Linked DNA regions of Homo sapiens: region 2 is linked to region 1. The links are contacts of gene promoters, found by promoter capture Hi-C in blood cells and fetal thymus (Javierre and others, 2016). All regions are on one chromosome and are shown on one strand. Each heading gives the region's core, a stretch centred on a gene start or on the middle of the fragment in contact. The rest is flanking DNA. Distances are from core to core; before and after follow the strand shown.

Region 1 (5,305 bases), core at 2,102-4,601:
TGCACCTCCTTCCACTCCATGTTTTTTATGCTTTCAATACTTTGTGATTGAAGACAGTAAAACAGATGTGGACACATTAATGGAGTAGAATGCAGAAAAACCTATATATTTTTAGATAAAACATAAGCTTCAAAGAAATGTCTCCCCCATGTTAAGCCTTGCAGTGGGTTGGATGTTGGCCCCAAAAGATATGTTCACCTGGAAGCCGAGAACGCGACCTTATTTGGAAAAAAGGTCTTTGCAGATGTTGTAAGATAAGGATGTCGAGATGACATCATGCTGGATTAGAGTGAGCCCTAAATTCAATGATACTTGTCTTTACAAAAAGAGAGAAGGGAAAGGACACAGGGAACCAGGTTGTGTGAAGACAGAGAGGCAGAGGTGGGAGTGACACTGCCACAAGCCAAGGAATGTCTGCAGCCACCAGAAGCTGGAAGAGGCAGGGAAGGATTGTTCTCTACAGACTTTGGAGAGAGGCTGGTGTCTTGATATCAGACTTCTGAACTCCAGAACTTTGAGAAAATAACCTCTGTTTTGTCACCTAGTTTGGGGTCATTTGTTAAGGCAGCCCCAGGAAACGAACACAGGCCTCTAAGGGCTAAATACCCCAGCCTCTCTGGGGGAAAATGCTCAGTCTTCAGTCATCAGATAACTTTTGAGGAGACTGTGGTGGGCAATGGGGAGCCATGAGAAGTTCTTGAGCACAACCAGGGACAAATGGAAACAATTTACAGGAAGGTTAGGATGACATTGATGTCCAGTGTGAGTCTGAGGGATTTAAGAAGGAAGTAATGGGAGACCAGTTGGAAGGCAGTAGTTGTGGGGAATTGAACAAGAGTTTTGGAGTCAGGTACATGCTCTGACCCCAGTTCTTTGATCCACTGTTCAAGTGATTTCATCTGTAAAATGGGTATAATACTATTGTGTGTGGATTAGAGATGATATATGTCAAGAATTCAATCAAGGTACATTATAACTATTGCTAGAATGATGTATAAGTTAGGATGCCAGTGATGGAAATGGAAAGAAAGGTGCAGTGGAAAAGATGTTTAAGAATCACCAGGACTCAGAACCATGGGGGTAGTCTGCAAGGGGTCTTGGTGTCATTCAGCGCTCTCCCAGCTTTTCTTGGGGAGAACTCGGAGAGAGGGAAGGAAAAGCCAAGATAACAATGAGATTTCTCCCAGGAGCTGAGGTGCCTGGTAGACTCTTGGCCAGGCCTGAAACCATGGGAGGAGGAGCTGGTCTGGGGAGCAGATGAGTTTCATTTTGAACATGGTGACCTAGAAGAGATGCTGCGCCATGTTTAGGGGGTGCAGATTAGCTGGGGAGCTCTGCAGATTAGCAGGGGAGCTCTCTAAGGCTACAGGTCTGGGGGTTAATCAATGAAGGTTTAGACAGGGAGTGTACAAAAAACAATCAACTCTCTCTTTAAAAAAAAAAGGTGCGTATCAGAATAAAAACAAAGGGCCACCATCTGCCTTGGGGATATCACTTTTACAGGGTGGGAAGACAACAACCTCTCTAGAGGAGGCAGATGGGCAGGTCAGAAAGGTAAGAGAATCAGAACTGGCTGTGTTTGATGAATGAAAAGATGATGGTGTTTCAGGAAATAGCAGAAATGCCACATATTTCAGAAAACTCCACAGGATAAAGATTGATAAAGGGCCACTGGATTTAGATAGAGAATGACATCGGTGACTTCTAAAGAATCAGAGAAAGAAGAGGCATGCAAGAACCACGATTCAGTGAAAGTTTACAAAGCAAACAAGCTACAAACTGGGTCAATATTGCTATACTTATTTTGAGTAAATTAATCTAAAATTGGGCAGACTGATGACTAGAATTCTTCTTTTCTTATTGTAAAGCTAGATATTAGTAACACAAAACTTGCACAAAAGGATGAACTGAAGTAGCTTCTTTCACAAGGTCAAAACAAGGAAAAATGAGGCTGTTCTGATTCCCTGAGCTTGTACCTGATTCCTGCTCAGTGTACTGTGCTTCCTTCCACTTACTGAGCTATTGAGGGCTACCTACTGCCAGGGTACTTCACATAGGAGGTAAGTAAATATTATCTCCCCATATGACAGATTTTAGAAAGGCTGAGGACCACCTGTGCAACGTTACACAGTTCAGGAAGTCAACAGTCAAACACTCACCTGTCTGACTTCAAAGCTACGCTGACTCTAGTTACCTATCCTTGGGTACTTCCCTTCTGGAAGGAAGCAGGAGATGAGTGAATCAAATAATACAGCCTTGTAACCTTGGGTAAATTATTATTGCCTTAATAGTAAGCAGAGACCAGGAGCCTAAGAAAGAATCTCATTAACATGGATGCAGGCTATCCTGCCAGGAAATCAGAATCATTTGAATATTAGGATTTCCTTTGGGAAACCATATGGGGAGGAGAAAAGACATCCGGATGCATGTGTCTGTGAAAGGGAAACTTGTGTCTTTCCCCTTGCTCTTGGGTTTTCATCTTCCAAGTTTGTTTATAGGCTAGCCACAACTCGAGGCTGGGTGAGCTGAACGGTCCCATCATTAGCGACACTCCTTCTAGGGGCACATTCGGGCAGCTCCTCTTCGGGTTCTGCCCCCACGGGTGTGCAACCAGGATTCCACAGGCTGGGGCTGGCCTGGATGCCTGGGAGGCAACAGAGGTCGAGTTTCTTCTTCTTTTAGGAAGTGCCTCGGACAGGGATGATGGACTAAAAATGTGTCTGGTTGGGAAAGTAAATAGATGCAAAGCAAATAAATAAAAATGCCCACAAGCAATTACAGGGAGGAAGTGACATTTTTATTTAAGTCACTTTTCTGATGGACAACAGGCCTGCTTAGCTGAGTGCCGTGGGAATGCTTCCGGGAGGGGGGCGGCTGCCCAGCAACTAGAGCTTCGTGATAAGAACAACGAACAAACAAAAAAGAGGACGCAAAGCCCACCCGGCAGTCATCCCAGGCTGGAAGTTGCCGTCTGTGTTTTCACTCTCCTCCCCACCCACCTACCCTGCCCCCCACCGCCCGCACGCAATTTCGGGCGTGGGGACCCTTTCCTGCCCCCGGCGCCCGGCCCGTGCTGCGCCTCCAGAGCGGAGCGTCCCGCAGCCCCGCGCTATCCCGGCGCCCGTACCGGGACCCGGGCGCGGAGCCTGGCGACGACGGGGGGCGCCCCAGGTGGGTCTCGGGTCCCCGCCCCGCGCGCCCGGGCCTGGGCCGGCCCCTGGGCGGCGTCACGGCGCGGCCGGGGAGGAGCGCGGGAGGAGGAGGAAGAGCGCGGAGGAGGCGGGCGCTGCGCGCCGGGGGAGGGTCGCCGCCGCCGCCGCCGCCGCCGCCGCCGCTGCCGCGGGGATCGTCAGGCCGGAGCCGCGCGGCCGAGCGGGCGGCGGGCGGAGGGGAGGGCTTGGCGGCCGGGAGGCTCGCGGCGCCCGGGCCGGCAGGGTCCGCCCGGGCCGGCAGCGTCCGCCCGGCGGCGGGAGGAGGGAGCGGCGCAGACAAAGAGCGGCGCCTGGGCGGGCGCAGCGCGGCCACCGCCCCGGGACCCGCGCCGCTGCCCTCCGGCTCCGCGGGCGGCCCACGGCGAGGTAAGCGCGGCTAGGCGGGCGTGGGGCGGGGGCCACAAACTTGGGGCCGTTGGGCGGAGTTGGGAGCGCGGCGGGGCTCGCGGGCCGGGGTGCGCCCGGGAAGGGGCCAGGAGAGCGGGTCCCCTCCGCGCCCCTCCGGTGCTCTCGGCCCTGCCGCGGCCTGGGCGCCCCCGACCGCGGACTGCCGGGCACCTCCCGGCTCTGCACCTTCCTGCCCGCCTTCCCATCCCTAACCCCCACCATCGGGGGCCGGCCCAGGGGCGGGGACGCCAGCCAAGGGCGCGGGCGAGGATCAGGGCAGGGGGCCCGGCTGCGGGGCCCGGGGACTGGAGACCCCCGGGTGCGCAGGCTGCGCCTGGCCTGCAGGCGGGCGGCCGGCACGGAGCTCGGGGCTAGCGTGGGACCGTGCGGTGGCCAGGGTCGCCAGGGCGCGTGTGCCGGGGAAGAATAGCCGCGGATCGCAGGGCCCCGGCGCAGGGACGGGGGAGGCCGCGATCGGCCGGGAGAACTTAACCGTGTTTATTACAACTATTTATGTTCGCGCACAAAGCTGCTGTCACATTGCATAAAGGAGGTCCTCGCTTCGGCGAAGGGAGCTTTTGTGCCCGGCTTCAGGCTCTGCGCCCTGCCCCAGATTTACAGGACTCTAACAGCCACCTGAATGAACCAAAGTTTCTCACAATCGCTCGGCTCTCTCGGTTTTTTTCAGGGCGATTTAATCACCGAGTGCTTTTGGAAAAATTTGATATGTGAGTTTTAAGGCATGGAGGGTAACTGCCTTATGAGCACAGTTAGCTTGGCATTGTGTGGAGGGGTTTAATTTGCAAAACGCTTTAATTTGTAGACAATGGGGATCTCTGTGAAGGTCTGCGGTGGATGCTAGGGGTCATTGGCTGGTGGACCCCAGGCACCTGACTTAAACTAGTATTGTAACAGCTTCAGGGACAAAGCCGAGCGTGCGTGGAGTCGGCCTTGGCCACTTCACACAATTCAGGTTGGCAGATTCCTCTTTATTTGGCTTTGTTTATTTTGCCAACAGGTTTAAGGCTGCTTCTGCCAAGTTTGCATCTGCATAATGGGATGAGCAGGCCCCAGTGTGGGCAGGAGGGGGCCTAAAATATCGCAAGGGCCAGCTCCGTCCCTCGACCCAGAAAGAAACAACCCTGAGAGGCCGGTGGGCGTGGCTTGCTGGGACCTACAGGTAGGGGAGTCCCTTCCTGGCCCAGGCGCAGTCCCCGCTTCTCGGAAGGGATTTTGTGTAGGAATGAAAGTGATTCAGGGTGTTTTTCATGCCTCTGTTTTAGATGTAGTTATCAAGTCTCAAAAGTGACTGAAAATGAAATTAACCTGGGCCGCTTTAACTTACCAAAACGGAACTGTGCGTGTGAACACTCCCTCAATTCACTTTGCAAGCTTCATAGATAAGCAGGTGAATTAGTAACAGGATTCAAGCCTTGCGAGTTTTACGTAAAGAGAATGGCAGTCATCGGACACGTGGAGAAGAAATTGACTTCACCTGGAGATTGGGCTAGACATGGAGGTTTTTTGACGTTTGGAACAGGGGTTTCCTGAGAAGCAAGTGTTAACCTGCTTGTGAAGAAGTGAACACGAGGGAAAATCCTACCTCAGTATATTCTGCCCTGGAGGTTGGTTAGATGTAGTTTTGATTGGAGAAGGTGGCGGAATCTTAGTGGTCTTCTGGCGGCTACTTGAGGCTGAAATGGAGA
Region 2 (5,602 bases), core at 263-2,762, 790 kb after region 1:
CTTACTTAATTTTAAGTACAGTATGCACAGAAATCCCCAAATGAGGTTAAGAGAGGTGTGTGGCACACTTGCACAGATTTCTCATTTGAATCCACATATGCTTAAAATCTCTTTTTACTTGGTGTAGAGCTTGGTTCTATAAGTGCCCTTCAGCTCTCTAAACACCAGATTGTAGCTCCTTGTGGAATGCCCGAGGAAGCGACAAGGAATGAAAAGAAGAGCATGGCTGTTCTTACTGAAGTGGCGGTCGATTTCTAAAAGCCCTTGCAGAGGATTTCTGTTGTTGCCACCTCTAATTAGTACTGCTGGGATTAAACTTAATAGGTTCTGAAGATAAAGTTAGCACGAAGGAAAAACAAACACACTGACAAAGCACATTCAGAATCAGCCGTGGGACAGCCGTCACGCCTGCTTGTTGCTAAGCTAGCTTCAGGCACCTCGCTTTGGAAATTAGCAGGGTAATGAATGTAAAATAAATGAGAAGTCTCTGTGAGGCTCCTTTTCTGACCTGCGCTGAGAGCTGGTGGATGCATGGCCCCAGAGGAGTCTCAAATGCTCAGTGATTGCGGAGGCCTGCGGACCTTCAGTGCTCAAAGTGTTTGCACGCATCTGGGTGTGCCCAGACAAAGCTGCTGGTCTAGGGAAGCGTAAGTCATCAGCTTGACTACCAAAGACCTTGCAAGCTTCCTCATGGTGGCACAAAACTAGCCAATATGACTCAATTCCCAAATAACACTTGCCAGTGATTTGAGAAACGGGAAAATACGGTATAGGCAGGGTGGTCAACTCAGGGGCTGAGGAAGGTTTAGGCTGTGAAGGGGAATTTTGAGATGGAGCCTTCAGCCTATGTAGGCTATGTATACATGAAGAATATTCATCTTGTTGCTTTTTGCTTGAAACGGTACACAAATGGCCTGCTTTTCTCTTTACTTGTTCTTAAAATTGATCAGAAGTAGCTTTCTTGGCTTGTTTCATAAGATCTTAGGACTTGAGCATCTACTATTAGCAGTGATTAAAATTTCCCCATGTTGTAATAAGGGTGACTGTGAATCTGTGTGGCACTTGAGATCTCACAAAGTGCATTTACCTTGGAAAATTCACCTTTGCGCTATCTAGAGCCGAGCAGTGTCCTGAGTAGGAATTCCTGTCTGTAACACCCTTCCCCACCTCCTACTCCCCAGATGTTCACCTGCATGTCACTATCTCTGGTAATAGCTGGCTTCCGTGTGTCCAGGCACTCCTGGGTCTTGGCCACATATTTTCAAAGGTCTGGCTCTTGGCATCTGTGCTGAGCTTGGACCCCTCCCTCTTCATATTATGCTCTCCACCCACCCACCCTTCCACACTGCCTCAAGGCTTCCCCTGGGGGCCTTCCTTGCCCTTCCTCATCAGGCCGGGCACTGCCATCTGAAACAGTCTCATATGCAGTGTGTCCCCCTCCCAGAGCTTGTGCACGGTGTGACTGTTTATCTGTGTGACTGCATGTGTGTGATCAGTAGCTCATGAACTAGTGACACATGAGGACTTCAGAGCCGGGTTCTTGCAGCTGGTGTGTGCTGGCTGAACTTCTGACTCTACCTGGTCACAGCGCAAGTGAACACGTGTTCACTTACACACCTTGGCCTCACTCATTTCAGGGCCAGGGCAGTGCCTGCCCCATGGAGTTGCTGTGTTGATGAGTGAGGCACATGAAGCACTTAGCAGAGTGCCTGGTGCCCCCACAGCACTCGGGGCCCATGTGTGGGTCTCACCTGTGTGCTGAGACCTCCTGTGTCTCTTCACCACTGTGTCTCCAGCAGGTATCACAGCACCTAGCACAGGGCAAGCTCCTTATAAATTTGTGAAATAAATGGATGAATAAGTGAGTTCAAGGGGAAATATATATATTGGTCCCAAAAGGCAAACATATTTATATTTCTAAAATTTAGAGAACTACTTTATGGAATTGAAGTAAAGATGTTTCTTGTTTCCACGCCAAAACATGGAAAGTTGATGTACTTGGGACACAATACCATGTGTGCGGTGTGCTCATCTTTTATTCTGAAGACAAATAAGGGGTCTTACTGTGGAATTAGGGGGCCACACGGGGCTGCAGCTTCTGGGCATCATTGCTCTTTGCTGCTTAATTCCAGCTTACAGGATGTTTCACACAAACACCAAAAACATTTTTAAGATGGACCATATCATATTTATCATTGTCTCTACAGTGTTTGGCTTCAATGCATCAAACTTCAAAATATGTGTTTGCTTGAATTCCAATTTCTTGACGGATACACGGCTTGGAAACCAAGCCTCCTTTGGCTGATAAAATAAGAACAGAATCTGACACTTAAAAAATTATTTAAGCTTTGCCAAGTGGGAAAAAAAAGTGTATTCTCCTACTGCTGAGCATCTTGGCTAACTTAATCACTGTTCCCGTCACTGAATCTCCCTTTTTTGTCATGGGACTTCCTGATCGTTAAATCTATTTCATAGTAAACATAAGTGAATTTTGGTTTATTGTTATTCTTGTTTACATTGAGAATTAATTTTGAGTGGAAATTATATACTTCATGTTATGTAGATGAAGTTAGGGTGGATGTTATATTCCAATAATTTTATGGCTTGAAAGAAATTCAATTTTGTTATGTGGAATGATTTCCTAAGAATGAAAAAAGAAAATGACAGCTTCAATGATCAAAGAAAGAATCATGCAGAGAATCGTTTATGTAGACCTCTCAAATTAAAAAAAATATCCAAGTATTACTGTTTCTTAATTATGTGGTCTCAAGATGAGTGTTGGAATAATTATGTTATTAGAAACTCAGCCTTTGTGAGAAATTCGTATTTTCATTATTTTATTTAAAAAGCTTTTCAACATTTCTTACTGCAAAGAAATGACAATTAGCCCTAGGAGACCAGCCCACCAAAGGCGCATTAATGTCAATCTCAAAACAGATAAAAATAGGACCAAGAATGAAGTCAACTGGCAGTACCACTCCCTCATTTAGCAAGTCGGCTTGTTGTTCTGGGTGAGCCAAGCAGGCAAACCCCCTGCTTTCAGGACTTTCACAGTCTTGAGGGGGAAAAAGTAAATCAAGCAAATAATCATCCAAATACTCCTTTTTTTTTTTTGAGATGGAGTCTTGTTCTGTCACCCAGGCTAGAGTGCAGTGACGCAATCTCAGCTCACTGCAACCTCTGCCTCCTGGGTTCCAGTGATTCTCCTGCCTCAGCCTCCTGAGTAGTTGGGATTACAGGCGCCTACCACCACGCCAGGCTAATTTTTCTATTTTTTGTAGAGATGGGGTTTCACCATCTTGGCCAGGCTGGTATCGAACTCCTGACCTTGTGAACCACCTGCCTCGGCCTCCCAAAGTGCTGGGATTACAGGCGCAAGCCACTGTGCCCGGCCCCAAATACTCTTATAACTACCTTTTGCAGTAAGTATTCAAAGTGACAACTAGCGGGTGTCTTGAAGGCATATCAGGGGAGCTTCATTCGGCTGGGGGAGTGGAGACAGCCTTTTGGGGAAAATGACCTTTAAGAGACTCAATGGTCCACAGGAGCCCAGCAGGAGGAGAGGGAATGAAGAGTTTTGCAGAGAGCTGGATGTGCAAGGGCCCTGTGGTGGGCAGGCTTGGTGGGCTGGGGCAGAGGAAGGCAGGCAGGTGTGGTTTGAGGTAGGCCACGGTGGCACGCTGGCTGTGTGACAAGGTCTGCAGCATGCCTGTTTGTATCTGTGTATCACTAGGACCTCCCACTAACTCTAGATCCCTCTCCGTCATTCATGCTCAAAATTGGTCAGTTTCTTCTCTCTTGTTGGTGGTTAGTGACCCCCTATGGAAGTAGGGCCACTCACTCCTGAATGTGAGGTCAAACGTCCTCTTCCCCCAAAACCAGATTATTTCCCTTTGGTTAGGGCAGTGGTATTCAACCAAGGGGCAGTTTTGCACCCCAGGGCACATTTGACAATGTCCAGGCACATTATTGGCTGTCAGAACTTGGGAAGGGGATGCTAGTGGCATCTAGCGGATATGTTGCTAAACATTGTGCAATGAACAGGACAGCTCCCACAACCAGCAATCACCTGGCCCAAAACGTCAAAGGTATGAGGTTGAGAAACCATTTTAGAATGCATTTTTCAAACCGTAAGATGCGACCTGTTAGTGGATTATGAAATCTCTCTCTATTAATGAAATAGAGACCATACAAGGTGGGAGTGCATTACATATTGTATGTATGTTTGCATTATATGAATGTCCACCACACATGCATGTATATTTCTGTATATTGAGTGGCATTGTGAAAGGCATTCTTTATTGCAGGTTGCAGTTTAAAAAGTTGGAAAGTCACTGGAATAGAGAACCTACCAACATATTTCATCCCTTCTATCCTTCCAACTCCACCACGAATCTGCCCTATCTTGGCAGAGCTGTATCCAGAGCCCAGGCATGGCTTCAACTACAGCCTCTGCCAGCCATCCCATTGCAGTGTAAGCTAGAGGTCAAGGCTGTTCACTCTCTGGCGGGACCACCGTTCCCCATGGCTCAGCCTTCACTCTACCTCCAGCCAACTTTTCCTTCTTCCAACTCTCCATAAACTTTGTCTTGACTGTTCCCTGTCTGATACGCCACTTGCCACTTTAACTGGTCAATTCTTACTTAACCTTTGAAGACAAACCTTCAGCCTCCCCTCCTCTGTAGATCCTCAGGGACTTCAGCCCTTGTAGAGTTCACGGTCTCCGTCTCTGTTGTCTGCACAGCATTTTGCGCATCCCTCTGATATAACAGTCATTATCTGGGGTTCACGGCTGGTCAGCTGTGGGCTCACTGCGGGCAGTAACTAGATCTGACTTCTCTTGCCATCTTTGGAAACTAAAAGAGTGACTTATACACATATGAGGTGCTCAAAGGCATTTGACTAATACAGTCATGAATAGAGATTGTTACTTAGAGTCCTTATATTACTAATTATTTTGTAAACTGAAATATATTTTTGTGAGGAAAAACTCTCAATATATATCCTGGATTTTCATTAATGTGCATTTTCTTCCACTTTCAAGTTAATTCTTTTTTTTTCCTGATTATTTAACAAATACATGCCTATTAAAGACAACTTTGGGTAGACCAGAAGGATGTAAAGAAATCCTTCCCCATGAAGGATATATATTATGTAATGTATAAAATAGGTTATATAAATATATAGGTATATATTATATATGAAGTATATATTATATATGAAATATATATTATATATGAAATATATATGAAACATACTATATATGAAATATATATGAAATACATACTATATATGAAGTATAAATAAATATAAAAGTATATACATTTTACATATGTATATGTACGTATGTGTGTATAAGTGAATACATGTGCGCCCATCATCCAGCCCCGGCTTATCAACTGAGCAGTGCCCCTAACATTTCCGTACGTTGCTCGGGGTCAGGCTAGACTCTGCTGCCCCCGTGTGTTCCAGCGCAGAACTGCATAAAGAAAGAGGAGCGCTCGGCCATGCCGCACAGGTCCGGGAGGTTCGCGTTAATGTACCCTGTTTTTGAGCCCAAGGAACAAGTATTTAGTCATGATTGCCACTCGTTATAGGCTCT

Evidence for each region. The method cuts DNA at HindIII sites, captures the fragments that hold promoters and counts their contacts. A CHiCAGO score of 5 or more calls a contact.
Region 2: a contact is called between a fragment that was not itself captured here and the fragment with the promoter of NCK2 in region 1, in 4 of 17 cell types (fetal thymus, total B cells, M1 macrophages and 1 more). The highest score is 7.6, in fetal thymus.

The regions. Positions count from the first base shown.
Region 1 is chr2:105,741,561-105,746,865 of GRCh38, forward strand. It overlaps NCK2 (NCK adaptor protein 2), which reads left to right and starts at 3,352. Exons shown (of 5, transcript NM_003581.5): 1 at 3,352-3,578. RefSeq lists silencers at 3,003-3,322, 3,513-3,572, 3,683-4,072 and enhancers at 4,443-4,512, 4,613-4,662. The HindIII fragment of the contact is 4,864 bases long and covers 126-4,989 here.
Region 2 is chr2:106,537,469-106,543,070 of GRCh38, forward strand. It overlaps a transcript of CD8B2 not described here. Among named protein-coding and RNA genes, the nearest start is that of CD8B2, 53 kb to the left of the region's middle. The HindIII fragment of the contact is 1,663 bases long and covers 682-2,344 here.